Regions from separate parts of the Homo sapiens genome. Here region 2 is linked to region 1. Evidence: promoter capture Hi-C in 16 types of primary human blood cells and fetal thymus (Javierre and others, 2016). All regions are on one chromosome and are shown on one strand. Each heading gives the region's core, a stretch centred on a gene start or on the middle of the fragment in contact. The rest is flanking DNA. Distances are from core to core; before and after follow the strand shown.

Evidence for each region. Contacts are between HindIII fragments. The CHiCAGO score rates a contact against its expected background, and 5 or more counts as called.
Region 2: a fragment that was not itself captured here is called in contact with the fragment with the promoter of GPR22 in region 1 in 2 of 17 cell types (naive B cells and naive CD4 T cells); the score reaches 5.8 in naive B cells.

Annotation. Positions count from the first base shown.
Region 1 is chr7:107,466,502-107,471,668 of GRCh38, forward strand. It overlaps GPR22 (G protein-coupled receptor 22), which reads left to right and starts at 3,556. Exons shown (of 3, transcript NM_005295.3): 1 at 3,556-3,944; 2 at 4,871-5,167. The region is part of intron 6 of COG5 (component of oligomeric golgi complex 5); the gene reads right to left. The HindIII fragment of the contact is 4,703 bases long and covers 1,895-5,167 here.
Region 2 is chr7:107,705,023-107,709,634 of GRCh38, forward strand. All of the region lies in intron 18 of SLC26A4 (solute carrier family 26 member 4), which reads left to right. Among named protein-coding and RNA genes, the nearest start is that of CBLL1, 37 kb to the right of the region's middle. The HindIII fragment of the contact is 6,874 bases long and covers 1-4,612 here.

The DNA of each region.
Region 1 (5,167 bases), core at 2,306-4,805:
TATGCAATTCTGATGCATGTGCTTTATCAAATATAATCAGTATTCAGTTATTCTCATATAGAAAATGAATCACCAATGTTGTTGATTCTCTACGACTTCTGCTACTCCCCACTTGATGGAAGTTCAGCAGATGGTCCATTTCTATTTTTCTGATAAAGTATTTGTTGTGAAAGAAATGTAAAGTTGAGAAGCCAAATAAAATCTCTGAATTGGCATTAAAGCAAAATAAACCTTTTTTCTATGGGCTCCAGTATCAGAGAGAGTTCAAGGTTTACTACGCTAAGTATCCACTGAAAAAGGACCCTTGTCGCAATACAGCTTAAAACTGATTTTCAGCAATTAAAAATTGTTTGTACATAGATACCTTAAAATTGTTTCAAAGTACTTTCAGTTATGGTGAATTCCAATATTTCACAAAGCTGAGTTTTTATTTACAAACTCAGAGAATCTTCAAAACTGTGGCATCAGAACTAGCCACAAGCTGGGTAAGAATGATTTGATATGAATAGTACAATGTAAATATACAATAAATTACTCTGTCATAGTCACGGTTGTCAAAATTTAAGAAAACAAATACATAAAATTAGTTAGAGACTTCCCATAGGAGGAATTAAAACAGATATGCAATTAAAATATTTATAACTAAAAAGAAAAGCACGACTTTTAAAAAAGGATTTTAATTGAGCTGTATTTTGGGGTTAGAATCATATCTAGTGCTTAGTTATTATTAGGAAGTCAAACTGCTCTCCTAGGTTAGTATATAAAGGTTATATTAATTGCACAAAATATATTAAATGCACAAGTGTGAGTGTTACTACGGAAACAAGGATCTTCATAAATTGATAATCTGAAATTATTATTATTTTTTTTTTGAGACCTAGTCTCACCTTGTTGCCCAGGCTGGAGGGGTAGCGGTGCAATCGCAGCTCACTGCAATCTCTGCCACCCAGGTTCAAGCGATTCTCATTCCTCAACCTCGCGAGGAGCTGGACTAGAGGCTTGTGCCACCATGCCTAATTTTTGTATTTTTTGTAGAGACAGGGTTTCACCATGTTGGCCAGACTGGTCTCGAACTCCTGACCTCAAGTGATCCACCCGCCTCAGCCTCCCAAAGTGCTGGGATTACAGGTGAGAGCCACTGCACCCGGTCTGTAATTAATTTTTTTCATGAAAATAATATAATCTGATTCTCAATCAGTAGTTGAGATATTTGCATATTTGTTAAAAACAGGGGAAGTTGGAATTACCTTGTTAAGATTTCGGCATACCTTGTTAATCACCAATTTGTGGTTTTTAAAAAGGAAATAAAATTATACTAAGCACTGTACACAATAAAAAAAGTTTGTGATATCTTATTTATCCTTGGAGACAAGTTACTCATACAGAAAATAAAGAGCACTGTCTGTGCTCGAGCTACCATTATGGCTCAGAAACCCCAGATTTTGTTTTTTTGAAATAATCTGAATATAACTTGAAAACACTGTCTCACAAAGAGTTAAACAAAGCACAAAAATATACTTCAACAAAAGGAATCAAAGTTGACCCAAAGGATGTTTGACTTGCCAAAAGTTATATAGGTAATAAATAGCAACTAAATCTAGATTATCCAATTCTAAGTCCCAAGACCTTCATAATTTTCCAAAGAGAGAAGGCCAACCGCCTAGTACAGCGTGGTTTGCAGTTTTAACATTGACTCTGCTGCTAACTTACCTTGACCCTTTCAAGTCAGTAAATTTCTCTGTACCTTTGTTTCTTCTACTTCATGGGGATATTCTGATGATAAACATAAGCAAATACTTGAACTCTGGCAGAAAAGCACTCTGCTGTGTTAATAATCTCCTCATCCCCATCACATATTTCCACTGATGCTATGCTTTCTCTGGTCTTAGTTTTAAGCTTAAATGAATGTGTGTGCTGTGGTGTGTGTGTGTGTGTGTGTGTTTCGGTGTGTGTAAGTTTTCTTTATAAATGGCTGGCATTCTAGCAAGATCCTTTTCCCCAACTTTCAAAACGCATGAATAGCAGCACAACATTTTCATTTTTAGAATTACCAAAGCCTTGCCACCCAAAGCTGTGCAGAAGATTTTAGAAATTCACAACAAAATTTTCCACCATATTACTCTCAACTTCTATAGAAATGCAACTCACAACTCATATTGGTCAGCTATTCCCCTATAAAGATTCAACACTACCAGTGGAAGATTATAAAAATGCATACGGCTTTTCAAATAATAAGAGAATAGTTCCAATTGCAAATAAAAACCAGTATACATTTTGAAAAATGAAGGTCACTAAATATTCCTAAAATAATGGAAACAGGTGATAATTAACATTCTAACAGTTTAGCCACATGTAATGTCCTCTATTTTGTCAACAGAGTCCAGCTGTTTTATCTACTTAAGTCTAAAAGAAATTTATCCTCATCATTAAAAACAGGAACTTATTTATAGGTAACTAAAATTAACAGAAATTTAATTTTAAATATTTTAATTTTATTTTTAATATTAAATTTAATTTAAATTTAATTTAATTTAAAATTTTTAATTTAAATATTTAAATATTTAATTTTAAATATTCAGTACTTGTACCATTATTTTCATTTTGAAAATGTATCTATCTTATAATGATTTGGCTTTATAACTTATAAAGACATGTAACTTACTTTATCCTTTAAAATAATATTTTACTAACAATATTAGCGTGTAGCTACATATCATATTTAAGAAACAGCAATCTACTAAGAAATGTGCCCAGGTCAAAAATAGAATAAGCCAATTGAAATAAAATATTATAGCAAATGATCAGTATACATCTACCAAATAAAAGGGTTATGAAAGGTGAAGACCAAGTAGTAATCTCCAAAAGTAATACAATGATTACTGATTGAAGTTTTATACCCGAGACTAAGCTACTATAATGAAATGTTTAAAAAATATTTTAGGGTATTATCACCTTAGGTCAATCTGATTATTATTTTGAATGAATGAATGAATGAAATGAATGAATACCCAAATGAATGAATACTGAAGTCATGACAATGTTTAACACCTTGAGATGCTCACAACAATTTGGAATACCCAGAGAAGATGACTTGAATACAAACAAACTATTTAAAATTCACTGTGGCTCACAGTAAAGATGCAGTGGGTTTCTATTTGTAGAACAAAGAATCTCAATCAAAAACCTATATATGACTAAAATATTCTCAAATGCAATTATCAAGGCTTTAGAAAGCATATATACTTTTTACTATGTAATTCTTTCCTGTTCCCCCACCTCCCTGCATTTTTTTTTAATGTTTGGCATAAGTGACCAACAAACCAGAATAGAATACACATTTTTAAAATACTAATTTACACATATTCTATTTAAGAACAACATACAACCACTCATAAATTTAGCCTTTTTAAAAGTGTCCTTTATATAAAACAGTGGGGAGCGGGGGAAATCCCTGCTATACATATGAAGCACAGTTTAAGCCCAATACAACTGACCAATCAAAATTAGTGAATACACTGCATCTCTCTGCAGTGGAGAGAAGCGACAAGGTAGGCTGTCATTCTGCAAAAGCTGCCCGAACAGGCTTTCCTCTGAAAAGCAGTGCCGTTCCTTTTTAGAAAGACTGAATCTAAATGTTGTCTCTGGAGACAAGAAGCCTTCAGTATGTTAAATTACTTTCATTATGTATTTTCAGATGCTTATTGATTCCACAGTAGGAAGAGTGAGAGACTGCAGCAGCCTCTAAGCAGCACTACATGTTCCATACATTAGCAGTACTGCTGAAACAATGGCACACTACAGACACATATTTTCATTAAGGTCATTTTCGAAGAGATGTTTATGACCCTCTTCCCCCAGTCCTCTACTAACAAGTGAACAAAATGAATCAATCCAAACTGGAAATGCTTCAACTACATCAAGAATTTATCAAATCTTTAGCAGAGGTAAGATTTGTTCCTATTATAGTATACAGCTGCTTTTGAACCGGCATAGTGGGGTAAAAATTACTTTGAAAAATTTCAGCCTAAATTTTAAGAGTTTGTTTAATTCTACTTATTGCTAGACATGTATTTTAAGATCTATTTCTTTTAAGACATGCTACATTTTAAATGTAATTTTTTAGGATGCATTGTTAAATACAAATATTCTTTGTAAATTCATTATGAAGACAGCTTTTGAGTCACTTCAGATATACTAAATATTCTTAATGTAATCAGTACAGTTTTTCTCCAGTGTTTCAAAAATGCTTCTGTTTCTTAAAAGAACTAGGTTTACTATTTTGCTGTTACTTATTACTTAATTTTATGTTAAGTTTATTATTTGGCATGTTCACTGAAAATTAATTTGCAGTTACAATTTTTATTACCTTTTGTATTTCAACCACATGAACAATTCATCAATGGAAATTTATAGTATCTTATGAAATCTGTTTTAATGAGTTAAAATTCAAACCATGTGCTAATAATTAGGCAAGTTACAATATTTTTAGAGCAAAAAATGTTGTTAAATTTATTACAAAGAAGAAATAACAGTATGTTTAGTGTATGCTAATTGTTCATCATCTCTGAAAATACAGGTTAGCTTCTAAAATGAGAGCAGAAATTAGTTTTAAAAAATATAGCTTTTCTCTCACAATTGTATTTGAAATGTGAACTCTATTGTTAAATAACATAATATATACAATCTTTATTAGGAAAAAAGACTTATTTAAAGAAACAATTTTATGCATATAGCTGTGGCTCTAATAATAACAGTTTGGTTATTTTGATAACAAATACTGGATAGTTTTTAAACAAAACTAAAGTAACTTGCAATTAATTACAAATTATTAAAAACCCTATTTCTTAACCAATTTTCTTCTTTTCACAAGGGCCAATAGCAGCTAATTCAGTATTTACAACTGACAATATGAAGAATGCAATTGACTGAGCATCTCCCTAGCTGTCTGAACTACGAACTGCAAGATGTTCTTGTAACACGACTTTAAGACATTAAGGAGTTAAAACCAGGGAATAGGTCTACATTACTGATGGAATATAAAAAATCAACTGTATCCTAAGAAGATGCTACATAAAATAACCACAAAAAGAAAAACAATATAACTGTAAAAGCCTGAAAAGAATTTTTAAAAGGGGAAGTTTATACTTTCATATACCAGAATTGTGGA
Region 2 (4,612 bases), core at 1,933-4,432, 240 kb after region 1:
GGATGGGCACAGCTGCTTGGCCCCTGAGCCACCGAAGGCTGCTCTACTCCTTCGTTCTGGCTACTAAAAGCTGCAAAGCTCTGGGAGGGCAAAGCTCAAGAAGACTAAAACAATGGCCTTTACCATTTTTGTTTGATGATTTTCCCCGTTTTGATCAGGCTCTCACCTAGGTAAGAGTGAACAAAATGTAGGAGATCAGTGCTACTCTGTTACCATCATTTTGGGTTTCTGGTCTCAGGAGGTCATGTGTAGCTTATGGTGCCCTCCTCATTATCATGTATGTCTCTGAGTTTTTGTTGTTTCAGAGAGAGACCATTCGATGTCTGACAGGTGGCTTTTTGGAAACATTTAAAACTTTGAGAGGGTATAATGTACCAGGAAGACTGCTATTATGACTATCAGGGAGATAATACCAAGGGTTTATAGTATGCTCCTTAGCCAGGATTCTCATGAATCAAACCAACTAAAATTGAATAGCCTGACAAGGAGACTACCTGTTTTAACCAAGAAGTCTTCTCTGTAGTACCTGATGTATTTATATATGTGGAACAAGAAGTGTCACCCAACTGCACAGATGCTTCCTTGTTGAGTTAGCAGGTAATCTAGCATTCCATGACTGGTTAAATTAAAGCAGAAAGTGTAAGTTACCCAAAGAAGCTACTCATTGTGAAGTTTTAACTACAGCACTATCCTGCCAAGTGAAAGAGGTAGGCACAAGTAAGGGAAAATTAAAAGGGATAAGCATCTTATGATAGGGAGTCTTGTTCTGACAGTCTTGGAGCTGTCTACAGCATGAAGTTGACAACTTCTTGTTTTGGTTTGTAGTTTTATTGTCTCTAGTTGTGGCATCCAGCATTCTGGCGAACTCTCTATGTGGCCCACAGTTTAAGCATGAGATTCATCTCTTGAAATTTACACTGAGTTGCTCAGCTTCAGCTTACAGAGCTTCAGGAACTGAGTAGTTCTTGGTCTTCATTGGAGTGTTGTAGCCAGATATTAGTGAAAGCTAAAAGAATTAAGAATCCAGCTCAGTCTACAGGTAGATAATAAAAACTCATAAATATTGAACAGGGCTACAGTCTAAGAACAGTTTTACTATGCTTTTCTTTTGAACCATATGTTTTTCTTTCTATAGTCACCTCCATTTCTATCAAAGACGATCATGGTAGACCAATTTGTTTACAAAATAAGTTTGGTCTCAAACTTGGCCTGATTGATTATTTACACAGTACAGCAAGAATAACTACATAGGTGACTCCTTTCAAATTTGCTTTGCCAAGCCTGGCGAGGTATTGCTTGCCTGTGAGCCCAGCTACTTGGGAGGCTGAGGTGAGAGGATTGCTTGAGCCCAGGAATTCAAGGCTGCAGTGCACTATGATTGTGCCTGTGAATAGCCACTGCACTATAGCCTGGACAACACAGTGAGACCATGTCTCCAAAAAATAATTGCTTTGATAGAAATTTTGACAAGGAATCTCAGATTGGACTTTTTAAAACGTCTTGATGCTATGAAGTCAAACCAAGGCAGACATTAGGCTTTGCCTGATGTATCTAATATCTTGAAGTTACTGGGCCTCCCAGGAAGGAACGACTTTTTATTCACTCATTGTAAGGCTAGCAGCCCTTGAAGCCAGGAATTCTGTGCACATTTTCAAATATGATATTCTATTCAAAGCCTTGATAATATAACCAATGTTTTCCAATTGTATTCTATTTAAAAGAACAGATTCTATTGAACTTTCATGTAAATAATCATATTGCCATAAAAATAAGAATACTCACAAAGAGTTTCCAAATTCTGGAAGGATCAGGTAGAGAGGAAAAGCAAATGTTTCAATTTTTGTTTATGAAAGTATGCTTAACAAGGCTGGGTGCGGTGGCTCACATCTGTAATCCCAGCACTTTGGGAAGCCAAGGCGGACAATTGCTTTGAGCTCAGAGTTTGAGACCAGCCTGGCAACATGGCAAAACGCCGTTACTACAAAAAATACAAAAAATTAGCTGGGCATGGAGCCTGAGGCTGAGAATCACTTGAGCTGGGGAAGTGGAGGTAGCAGTGAGCCCAGATGGTGCCACTGCACTCCAACCTGGGTGACAGAGTGAGACCCTGTCTCAAAAAATAAAAAAAAAGTATGCTTAACCAAGTGGCTGTAAACTGCAGATAGCTTTAAAGAAAAATTTTCTTTAGATCTGGAAAACAAATATTAAAAGAACCAGCAATGTTTCAAATAAAAAAGCCATAAAACCTGTAATTCTTCTCCATCAGTTCATTCAGTCTCATGTAATTAATTCTTGCTCTGTTTGATCTTGGCTGGTAGTTTAATTCCAACGAATGGTATGAATTCAAAGTTATTAGAAACCTGTATTTGTCAGAGTTCTTTTCATTCTTCCCATATAACTCTTTGAAGTCACAGCACTTTAGAATTATAATGGCTTACAAAGAGCTTTCAGAAAAAGTATCAGAACAAAACAATTAACTGTGGACAACAAGACTTAAAGTGGCTATATTTAAAGATCTGATGTGAGTTACCCAATTGACAAGGATATTTGGATATTTCTGTGGCACACAACAATTTAAAATAACCAAAATTATGACTGGTAGCATTTATACCAAGACCTATCACATTTCTAGGAATGTTATATAATTTTGGAACATATTAATAACATATCTATAAAAATATAGCACAAAGAAAGTTAAACATCATTTCTTATTTTAACAGTGCTTCCCATATAATTTAACCTATCAGATAAGGCCATTTGGTTTAACATCTCTCTTTTACAGATTCTTTAAGAAATTCCAGGGTCCTCTGGAACATCCCAAAGTTAGTTCAAGGTCAAAAAGACTTAATTTTGATTTTTGAGAAGTTTGTCAAATACCAAAGGTTTAAAACATTTGATCAAAATCGGATCATAGGTCACTATGAAATAAAACCAAAGTGAAAAAAGAGTTCAAAGGCAAAAAGCACAAGAAGAGTTATATTGATGAAACATGAAATCTCTGTTTTCTAGGCCAGTTACCTGGAAGAGAAAATCCTCTCACAATTTTCTATTAAGAGTAAACCAATCCTCTGAGAAAACTCTATTGTTCCAACACATAGGCCCACACTTTAGCCTTCCATCAGTGTACTTTAATATTAATGCTCAATTTTTAGAAAAACTTATAAATAATTCCCTTCTACTTTTAGCCAACTCAATCACATAAAATTTTTCATGATATTTATCTTCTACAAACCTTCTACAACTTGCTTAAACCTTCATTTGGTCCTATACTTCCTTTTTTAAAATTGGCATTGTACCTTAGGACAAAGATTTACTTTTCTTTTCTCCTTATCATTTTGACCATATAAGGTTATCTCCTATACAAAAGAAAAAATTACTCTCTTTTCAATTTTCTTTATCTCTTCATACTTGTAAATTTCTTCTCACATCTTTCCTACCTAGTGGTTCCTTCCTGCCTTGTTTTGATTTCCTTCATAAGTCCATATTTAGAAACAACCTTTAAATAACCTCTGATTGCCAAGCTAGAGTTAAGTTTTAAATAAATAAATAGGCCGGTCATGGCGGCTCACATCTGTAATCCCAGCACTTTGGGAGGCAAAGGTCAGAGGATCACTTCAGGCCAGGAGTTTGAGACCAGCCTGAGCAACATGGTGAGACCCCGTCTCTATTATTTTTTTTTTAAAAAACAAAAAGCATAAAAACTCTGAGAACATTTTGAACCCAGAAAGATATTACTTCCAATTTGTGCCACAGAGCTGGTAATGTATGGAAATGTGTATCTTGACAGTGGGTGGGGGTGGGGTGAATATTGACAATGGGGGGATGTTGTTATGAGGAGAGCAAAGCTGGAGATTACTTAGATTCCTTAGAACAGGAGGACTCTCAAGGGTGTGAGTCTCTGTGTGTTTCTTTATGAATGTATGTGTGTAGGAAAGTGCTAAGGCTTAGGTTGAATTCTTTAGCAGCAGAGCCCAAGATGGGGATTCTTGCACAAGCGATTTATTGAGAATACATCTGAGGAAATTTATGAAGCAGTGAGGGGAGCAGGATAGGGAAGGGGAAGAAGCTGATCAAAGACATGGTTTCTGAAGTCCAGCGTAGATCCCTGATTTCACAGGGAGCACCACCACAGGAAGAGTACCAGAAGGTTATGCCTCCTTGAGGCAAGAGGACCTGCTTTCTCCCCCAGTAATGAGTCAGTCAGTGGCTGCAGGCCAGCCATGTGTGGGGATGAAACCTCCCAGTTCTCTTTATTTACTTATTTATTTGAGACAGGGTCTTGCTCTGTCACCCAGGCTGGAGTGCAGTGGTGCAACTGTGGCTCACTGCAGCCTCAAACTCCTGGGCTCAAGTGATCCTCCCATCTCAGCCTCCTGAGTAGCTGAGACTATAGGTGCACAACCACACCTGGCTAATTTTTGTATTTTTTTATAAAGATGGGGTTTCACCATATTGCCCAGAAGTTCTGGGTTCAAAGTGATCTGCCCTCCTCGGCCTCTCAAAGTGCTGGAATTACAGACCCAGTCCTCTTTAGATGACACAGCTCCCAACGGGCAAGGGAAAGTCTCCAGAGAAGGGCACAGCTGTGAAACATTGGCAGCCTGGCCCACAG